2 separate regions of the Homo sapiens genome follow, and region 2 is linked to region 1. The links are contacts of gene promoters, found by promoter capture Hi-C in blood cells and fetal thymus (Javierre and others, 2016). All regions are on one chromosome and are shown on one strand. The core of a region is centred on a gene start or on the middle of the fragment in contact, and the rest is flanking DNA. Distances in the headings are between cores, read along the strand shown. Region 1 holds the start of SPEF1 (sperm flagellar 1). Region 2 has its middle 4.2 kb from the start of SIGLEC1.

Region 1 (3,729 bases), core at 844-3,343:
GAGGGGTAGACATTGGGATAGCAGATTGGGTCCTGGGGAAATGAAGCGAGGGGATGGGGGAGAGGGAAGGGGGCATGGTGGTTGCTGTTCTGAGTGTACAGCCCTGGGGGAGTGAAAGCGCATCGCATCTGAGCTTCCTTGTGTGGGTGTTCCGAGGTTCCTTGCCTCCTTCCTAATAGAAGAGTCTCTTGATTTTGTAATCGGACGAATTCTGTCTGCGTTGACCCTCCCCACCCTGCCACCAAAACAGTCTCAGCCTGGGCAACCAAGACCATAGGAGATGATGGGGCTGCACAGGTATTCTGCTACCTGTTCAGATGACCCCAGTTGCTGAGCTTCTGCTGGAGAGAGTTGGCGGGGACATAATTGTGCATCTCCACCATCTTGGGGAAGTAAAACTTGATGACCTCTGCAACAAGGACTGAGGGAGAGGGGAGCAGACATGGAAAGTGGGGGCATGGGTAAGGAAGGAGGAGGTGAGAGAAGGTGGGGGTGGGAGAATCAGGCATGGCAGAGTGGTGGAACCCAATGGAGGGGTGGAGATGCGGAAAGGGGAAGGATAAGGAGGGAGACAAAGACATTAAGATTAGTGATAGGTAGAGGAGACTAAGTCTCCAGCATACCTCAGAGGAGCTGCATCCCTTCCCCACTAATTTAGGAATGGGAATACTGAGTCTCTGGTCCTCCAGTAGAGAATGAGTCAGCCAGTGCAGGGGCTCACACCTGTAATCCCAACACTTTGGGAGGCTGAGGCGGGTAGATCACCTGAGGCCAGGAGTTCGAGACCAGCCTGGCCAACATGGTGAAACCCCATCTCTACTAAAAATACAAAAGTTAGCCAGGTGTGGTGGTGCATGTAAACCCAGCTACTTGGGTGGCTGAGGCAGAAGAATCGCTTGAACTCAGGAGGTGGAGGTTGCAGTGAGCTGAGATCATGCCACTGCACTCCAGCCTGGGCGACAAGAGTGAGACTCTGTCTCAAAAAAAAAAAAAAAAAAAAAAGAGAATGAGTCTCCAAGAGAAGCTTTCAGGAGCCCAGGGAATTCACATGGATGCATGATGCACACACACACACACACACACACACACACACACACTCCAACACCAAAGTTCCAGGAGAGTAAAAGACTCACGTAAGCAGAGACACATGTGATAAGATCCCCCTACACATAGATACATAGGGCAGAATGTGTAGACACATAGAACAAACACATGCTAGACACACATAGGCACACATGTAGAACACACATAGACAGAAGCACAAAAAGCCACATATGCACACAGCCTCCCCAAATATACAGATACAGAGATGCATAGAAGTACTTGACATGAAAAGATGACAGATAAGTATTTCTGTCATTGAGATCCCAGGAGACATTCCTAGAAACACAAACACCTTCACAATCACAAAGAAACACATGCACACAAGACCCCCCCAAATACAAGACTAAACATGTCAACACATATGAACACACACATGCTCAGACTCCCAGAAGACATAGAACACATAGCAATGAGTGAGCACATACAGAAATGCATAAATACATATGCAGACACATATCTTAATCATTAATGTCCCTGGAGGGAGTTAGAGGCACCCCCCCCAACATGCACACAGGATAGAACATGTAGACATACATATATGGACACACATCGTTCACACACAGATGCAAATAGAAAACAAGCACACACATCTAAAATTTGAAGTCCCAGGAGGCAGATTCCTCCCCACTCCCACAAGCACACAAACACAAAGAGTTTGCACAGAGACCCGTTACACACGAACATACAGGACAGAACATGCAGACACACAAGGGCACACACCTCCATCGCTAAAGTCCCGGGAGAGGTTTCGCTTGGGCCGGGACAGAGGGATGTTGTCTACCCACAGGTACAGCTGGTGCAGCGCCTCCTCGTCCACGCTGCTCGCCATTGGCGTCCTCACGGCCTGGCCGCCCCAGCGGTGCCGGGTCCCGCCCCAGCCTCACGACCCTTCAGGCGCTTCCTTTCTCGCCACTGCAGAAGCCCATAACTGCCTCTGCCTGCCTAATCCAGAGACTCACGTCCCAGCTGGGAGCGGCCATATTGTTTTCTGAAACCATGGAAACCATTCCCGACTCTCCTGGGTACAAAGACTTCTGGGAGTTGTAGTTTTATCCCCTCCCCGCTACCTCCTCTCAGGCCCGAGCTTTGAAAAGGCGGTTAGCTGCCCTTGTCTTCTTCCCAAGAAAGCATCACTTCTGTGCCCACGCCACCTAGTGACCAGCCACTCATCCATTTTGGGACCAGCCAAAGCCAACCAGGACCCCAGAATTCCTGCATCTGCACCCCTAGGGTGGGGATCCCCCTTCTTGGCCCTTCAGCCCTTTAGTCCCAAGTGAAGGGAGCACTCCAGTGTTGGTCAGCTTTATTTGGGGGTGCGTTGTTGATAATCTGCCACCCAAATGGATTGCGTGATACAACTGCTTCCTGCTTCGTCCCTCTCCAAAAACTCTATGCTCATGGGGCCATTGCCACTCGCCCTTCCCAGCAGTGTTCTAGTGGGGTATTTAATAGGTAACCCAGACTCCCAGGGAGAACACCAGAGTTCAAGGCCAGTACCTTGGCAGGTCATTTAACTTCTTAACTCTATTTCCTCCTTTGTGAAATGACGATGGTTCTCACTTATTTGTCCCAAACCCCTCATCACCCGTCAATGAGCTATTCTTCCATGGATTAGAAATTCATTTCAGGCAGGGCACAGTGGCTCATGCCTGTAATCCCAGCACTTTGGGAGGCCGAGGCGGGCAGATCACCTGAGGTCAGGAGTTCGAGACCAGCCTGGCCAACATGGCTTTCGCCCCGTCTCTACTGAAAATACAAAAAAAAGTTAGCCATGTGTGGTGGTGGATGCCTGTAATCCCAGCCACTGAGGAGGCTGAGGCAAGAGAATCGCTTGAACCCGGGAGTCAAAGGTTGGTGAGCCAAGATCATGCTATTGCACTCCAGCCTAGGCGACAGAGCGGGACTCCATCTCAAAAAAAAAAAAAAAAGAAAGAAAAGAAAAGAAAGAAACAAATTCATTGCAGTACCCATAAGGGGGTTAGGAATATGGGTCCCTCCTTAGTGAAGAGGTACTTCTAGAGTCAGGATGAGAAGAGAGTTTGACTAACGGCATGGCCTTGGGCACCTGACCGGACCGCTGCCTGGTTTCTCATGGCTTTACCTACCTTATAGGGGCTTTGTGAGCATCTAAAGCATTTAGCACAGAGCAGGGGCCCTATTAGTATCAGCTGGTACTATCATTAATGAGACAGTCTCAGTTCCAGCAAGAACTGTTCTTTTTCGCAGGAGACAAATGGAAGTAATTCGTCTTGTTGGAACCTGCGGTGAGGTAGCTGGGTTAAACAGGAGCACCTGGGCAAGCAGGCAATGCTCCTCCTGCTCACTCGAGAGCAGGTGGGGCTTCCTTGTGGCCTTCTGGTCTCCAACTCCAGGGCTCGGATTTCGGGAGGGAAGGTGGTGGCAAGGGGGATCCCAACTACTTTTTGTTGTCACTTCAAAGCCCTCAAGGCCTGGAGGGGATTCCTGAATGCCAGAAGTAGAGGCCAAGAGTGGAAGTCACCCCCATTTCTTGTTTTAAAGTCATATATAGTGGTCTTGATTTTCCATAAGGGGCCATAACCAGGGCAGGCCAGGGACAAGAGATGAACTGGATACTCCCCCATTAACATTCCCAGTGTTGGAGAG
Region 2 (3,729 bases), core at 831-3,330, 64 kb before region 1:
AATCTCAGCACTTTAGGAGGCCGAGGTGGGCAGATCGCTTGAGGCCAGGAGTTCAAGACCAGCCTGGTCAACGTGGCGAAACCCTGTCTCTACGAAAAATACAAAAATTAGCTGGGCCTGGTGGCAGGCGCCTGTAGTCTCAGCTACTCAGGAGGCTGAGGCACGAGAATCGATTGAACCCGGGAGGTGGAGATTGCAGTGAGCCGAGATCACACTACTGCACTCCAGCCTGGATGACAGAGCGAGACTCTGCCTCAAAATATTTTAAAAAATGTAATTTCTCAGTAGGTCACACTGTTACACATTCATCTAATAACAATTATTCTTTTTCTTTTTTTTTTTTTTTTTTGGAGATAGGGTCTCACTGTCACCCAGGCTGGACAGGCTGGAGTGCAATGGCACAATCTCGGCTCACTGCAACTTTGACCTCCTAGGCTCAAGTGATCCTCCTGCCTCAGCCTCCCAAGTTGCTGGGACTACAGGTGAGTACCACCAGACGCAGCCAATTTTTGTATTTTTTTGTAGAGATGGGGCTTCACCATGTTGCCCAGGCTGGTCTCACACTCCTGAGAGTTCCCAGTCAAGTGATCCACCCACCTTGGCCTCCCAAAGTGCTGGGATTACAGGTATGAGCCACCATACCCAGTGAATTATTCTCGTTCCAGATAGGAAAACCAAGTCATAGGGAGGTTAGAGAATTTGCCAAAGACAAAACTTTTTGGTTGAAAAAAAATAAGTTTTGCTACAAGTATAGAAAACACCAAATAACGGTGTTTTAAATAAAATAGAAGTGTTTCACCCTCTCCCTCAAGTAAGTGTTGGCATCCAAGATGATATGACAACTCCACAATCATGAAACTAGATCCCTTTTTATTTTTTGGCTCAGTCATTGTCAATGGGCTGCTTCCAGTCATTGTCCAAAGTGGCTGCTTGCGCTCCAGCCACTGTATCTGCATTCGGGAAAGCAGGATGGAGGAAAGGACAAAGTAGGCCATGCCCTCTACTTTAAGATAACTCCTTAAATTGCTGATGTGGTGGGTCACTCCTGCAATACCAGCCACTCAGGAGGCTGAAGCAGGAGGTTCACTTGAACCCAGGAGCTTGAGGCTGCAGTGAACTATAATTGTGTCACTGCATTCCAGCCTGAGTGACAGAGTGAGATCTTGTCTCTTAACAACAACAAAAAAGGTAATTCTTTAAATTGTACACTTTATTGCTGCTTATATTCCACTAGAAGCTAGAAGTTAGTCACATGGTCTTAAGTCTTTATTCTAACAGGTGATGTGCCCGAGTGAATCCTGGGGGCCCAGTGCTAAGAAGTAGAGGGAGATGAAGCCCTGCCCTCCTGTGGAGCAACCAGGACCTTAATTCAGTCATTCATTCCTTGGACCTACCCAGATTCCAGCCTCAGGCCCCTGCCCACCTCCTTGCCAGTATCTCTGCAGAGCCTCCTGCCTCCCCCAGAGGGTGCCAGAGCCCTCTGCTTCCTCAGCCTTCAGACCCACTTGCTGTGTCTCAGGTGGGGACAACTCAGTCTATAGAGGCCCAAGGGAGATCTTTGAGACCCATACTGTAGTCAGCTTGGGGCAGATGGGAGTCATGTAGCTCACTGGCTAAAAGCCTAGGTCCTGCATAGAGCTGGGTTCAAATCCAGGCATATCCATCACCTGCTCTACGATCCCAGGAGTCACTCAATGACTCAGAAGCTAGAGTCCTCTGGAAAGCTTGTATGAAGAGTTCCCAGGGCCTGGAACATCAAAAGAGCTCTGAGAATGTTGGCTCTGCTGTTGCTTCTCTTATTGGGTATCTGAAGGCCGTACTCTCCTCTCTCCTCCACCCGAGGTGACCTCTACTCTCATAGCCACACCCTGGACCCTCACTCATTCAGTCACCTCACCCAGTCTGTCATCTGTCCCTCTGGCTCTCCTCTCCTGTTCATGCATCTTGTACTCACCCACTTCTGTCCCTGAGTGTTTCAAGGCTCTGGGGTTTTCAGAGACACTGAAGGGACCTCCCTCCTCAACACAACCACAAGGTCTAGGTGGAATGACCCACTAAGGGACCGGCTCTGAAGCCAGAGACTTCCAGGGAAAGTCAACAAGCCCAAGGATGCCCGTTACAAGAAAGTTAAAAGACCCATGTACATGTCCTCCCGTTTTATTCCCTGCTCAGGGTCTGGGCATACAGTGGAACACATGCAGTCCCCAAAGGACACCGTCTGTACAGAGTCAGATGGAGTTAAGAACATTTAGCCGGCTGGGCGCGGTGGCTCACGCCTGTAGTCCCAGCTACTCGGGAGGCTGAGGCAGGAGAATGGCGTGAACCCGGGAGGCGGAGCTTGCAGTGAGCCGAGATCGCGCCGCTGCACTCCAGCCTGGGCCACAGAGACAGACTCTGTCTCAAAAAAAAAAAAAAAGAATATTTAGTCTGGGCACGGAAGCTTATGCCTGTAATCCCAGCACTTTGGGAGGCTGAGGTGGGCGGATAACCTGAGGTCAGAAGTTTGAGACCAGCCTGGCCAACATGGTGAAACCCCATCTCTACTAAAAATACAAAAATTAGCCAGGCATCTGTAATCCCAGCTACTCAGGAGGCTGAGGCAGGAAAATCACTTGAACCCAGGAGGTGGCGGTCACAGTGAGCCAAGATTGTGCCAGTGCACTCCAGCCTGGGTGACAGAGCAAGACTCCATCTAAACACACACACGCACACGCACACATATTTAAACCACCACACCAACATCTAGTTCAAGATGGTGGACTGAGAACTTGTCTCTGCCATTCCTGGCCCATCCAATACCACTGAGAGCACAGTAAGCAAAGGGAAAAGGAGACAGAAGGGCTGGGAACAGGATGGCTGGGGGATGGGAAGTATCCACTGCACAGGATTTTGATTTAATTCTAGAAGATAGAAAGAGGGAGGATCACGTTCAGGAACAGATGCGGGTAAAGGAAACCAGAGCCAAAGCACGCTGAGAGAAAGCTGCCCCAGAGGCCGGAGCAGAAGTGGACTCTCTACAGGGACTCAATACACCCCAAAGGGTTGGTAGCTGGCACACGTACCTCTCCACCCCCACATGTAACACTGCAGGGCAGAGGAAATACCCTAGGTGAGTTCCAGTATCAATCAACCTGCCCTTTGTTCATAAAGATGAATTGGTTACCAGGTATTACCAGACAGGTGAGGAAGACCAACACAAAGAGAAAGATCCAGAAACAAACAGGCCAGGCGCATTGGCTCACGCCTGTAATCCCAGCACTCTGGGAGGCCAAGATGGGTGGATCACCTGAGGTCAGGAGTTCAAGACCAGCCTTGCCAACATGGTGAAACCCTGTCTCTACTAAAAATACAAAAATTAGCTGGGTGTGGTGGGGTTCTCCTGCCTCAGCCTCCCGAGTAGCTGGGAGGCTGAAGTAGGAGGTTCACTTGAACCCAGGAGCTCGAGGCTGCATTGAACTATGATTATGTCACTACATTCCAGCCTGAGTGACAGAGTGAGATCTTGTCTCTTAACAACAACAAAAAAGGTAATTCTTTAAATTGCACACTACATTGCTGCTTATATTCCACTGGCTAGAGGTTAGTCACATGGTCTCATGTCTTTATTCTAACAGGTGATGTGCCCGAGTAAATCCTGGGGCCCCAGTGCTAAGAAGTAGGGGGAGATGAAGCCCTGCCCTCCTGCTTGAACCCTAGAGGTAGAGGTTGCAGAGAGCGGAGATCATGCCA

Evidence for each region. The method cuts DNA at HindIII sites, captures the fragments that hold promoters and counts their contacts. A CHiCAGO score of 5 or more calls a contact.
Region 2: a contact is called between a fragment that was not itself captured here and the fragment with the promoter of SPEF1 in region 1, in 1 of 17 cell types (endothelial precursors). The highest score is 8.5, in endothelial precursors.

The regions. Positions count from the first base shown.
Region 1 is chr20:3,779,355-3,783,083 of GRCh38, forward strand. It overlaps SPEF1 (sperm flagellar 1), which reads right to left and starts at 2,094. Exons shown (of 7, transcript NM_015417.5): 1 at 1,825-2,094; 2 at 310-421. The coding sequence starts at 1,933. RefSeq lists enhancers at 1,988-2,282, 2,244-2,393. The HindIII fragment of the contact is 3,327 bases long and covers 1,023-3,729 here.
Region 2 is chr20:3,714,952-3,718,680 of GRCh38, forward strand. No RefSeq gene overlaps it. Among named protein-coding and RNA genes, the nearest start is that of SIGLEC1, 4.2 kb to the left of the region's middle. RefSeq lists a silencer at 1,520-1,579 and an enhancer at 1,935-2,104. The HindIII fragment of the contact is 716 bases long and covers 1,723-2,438 here.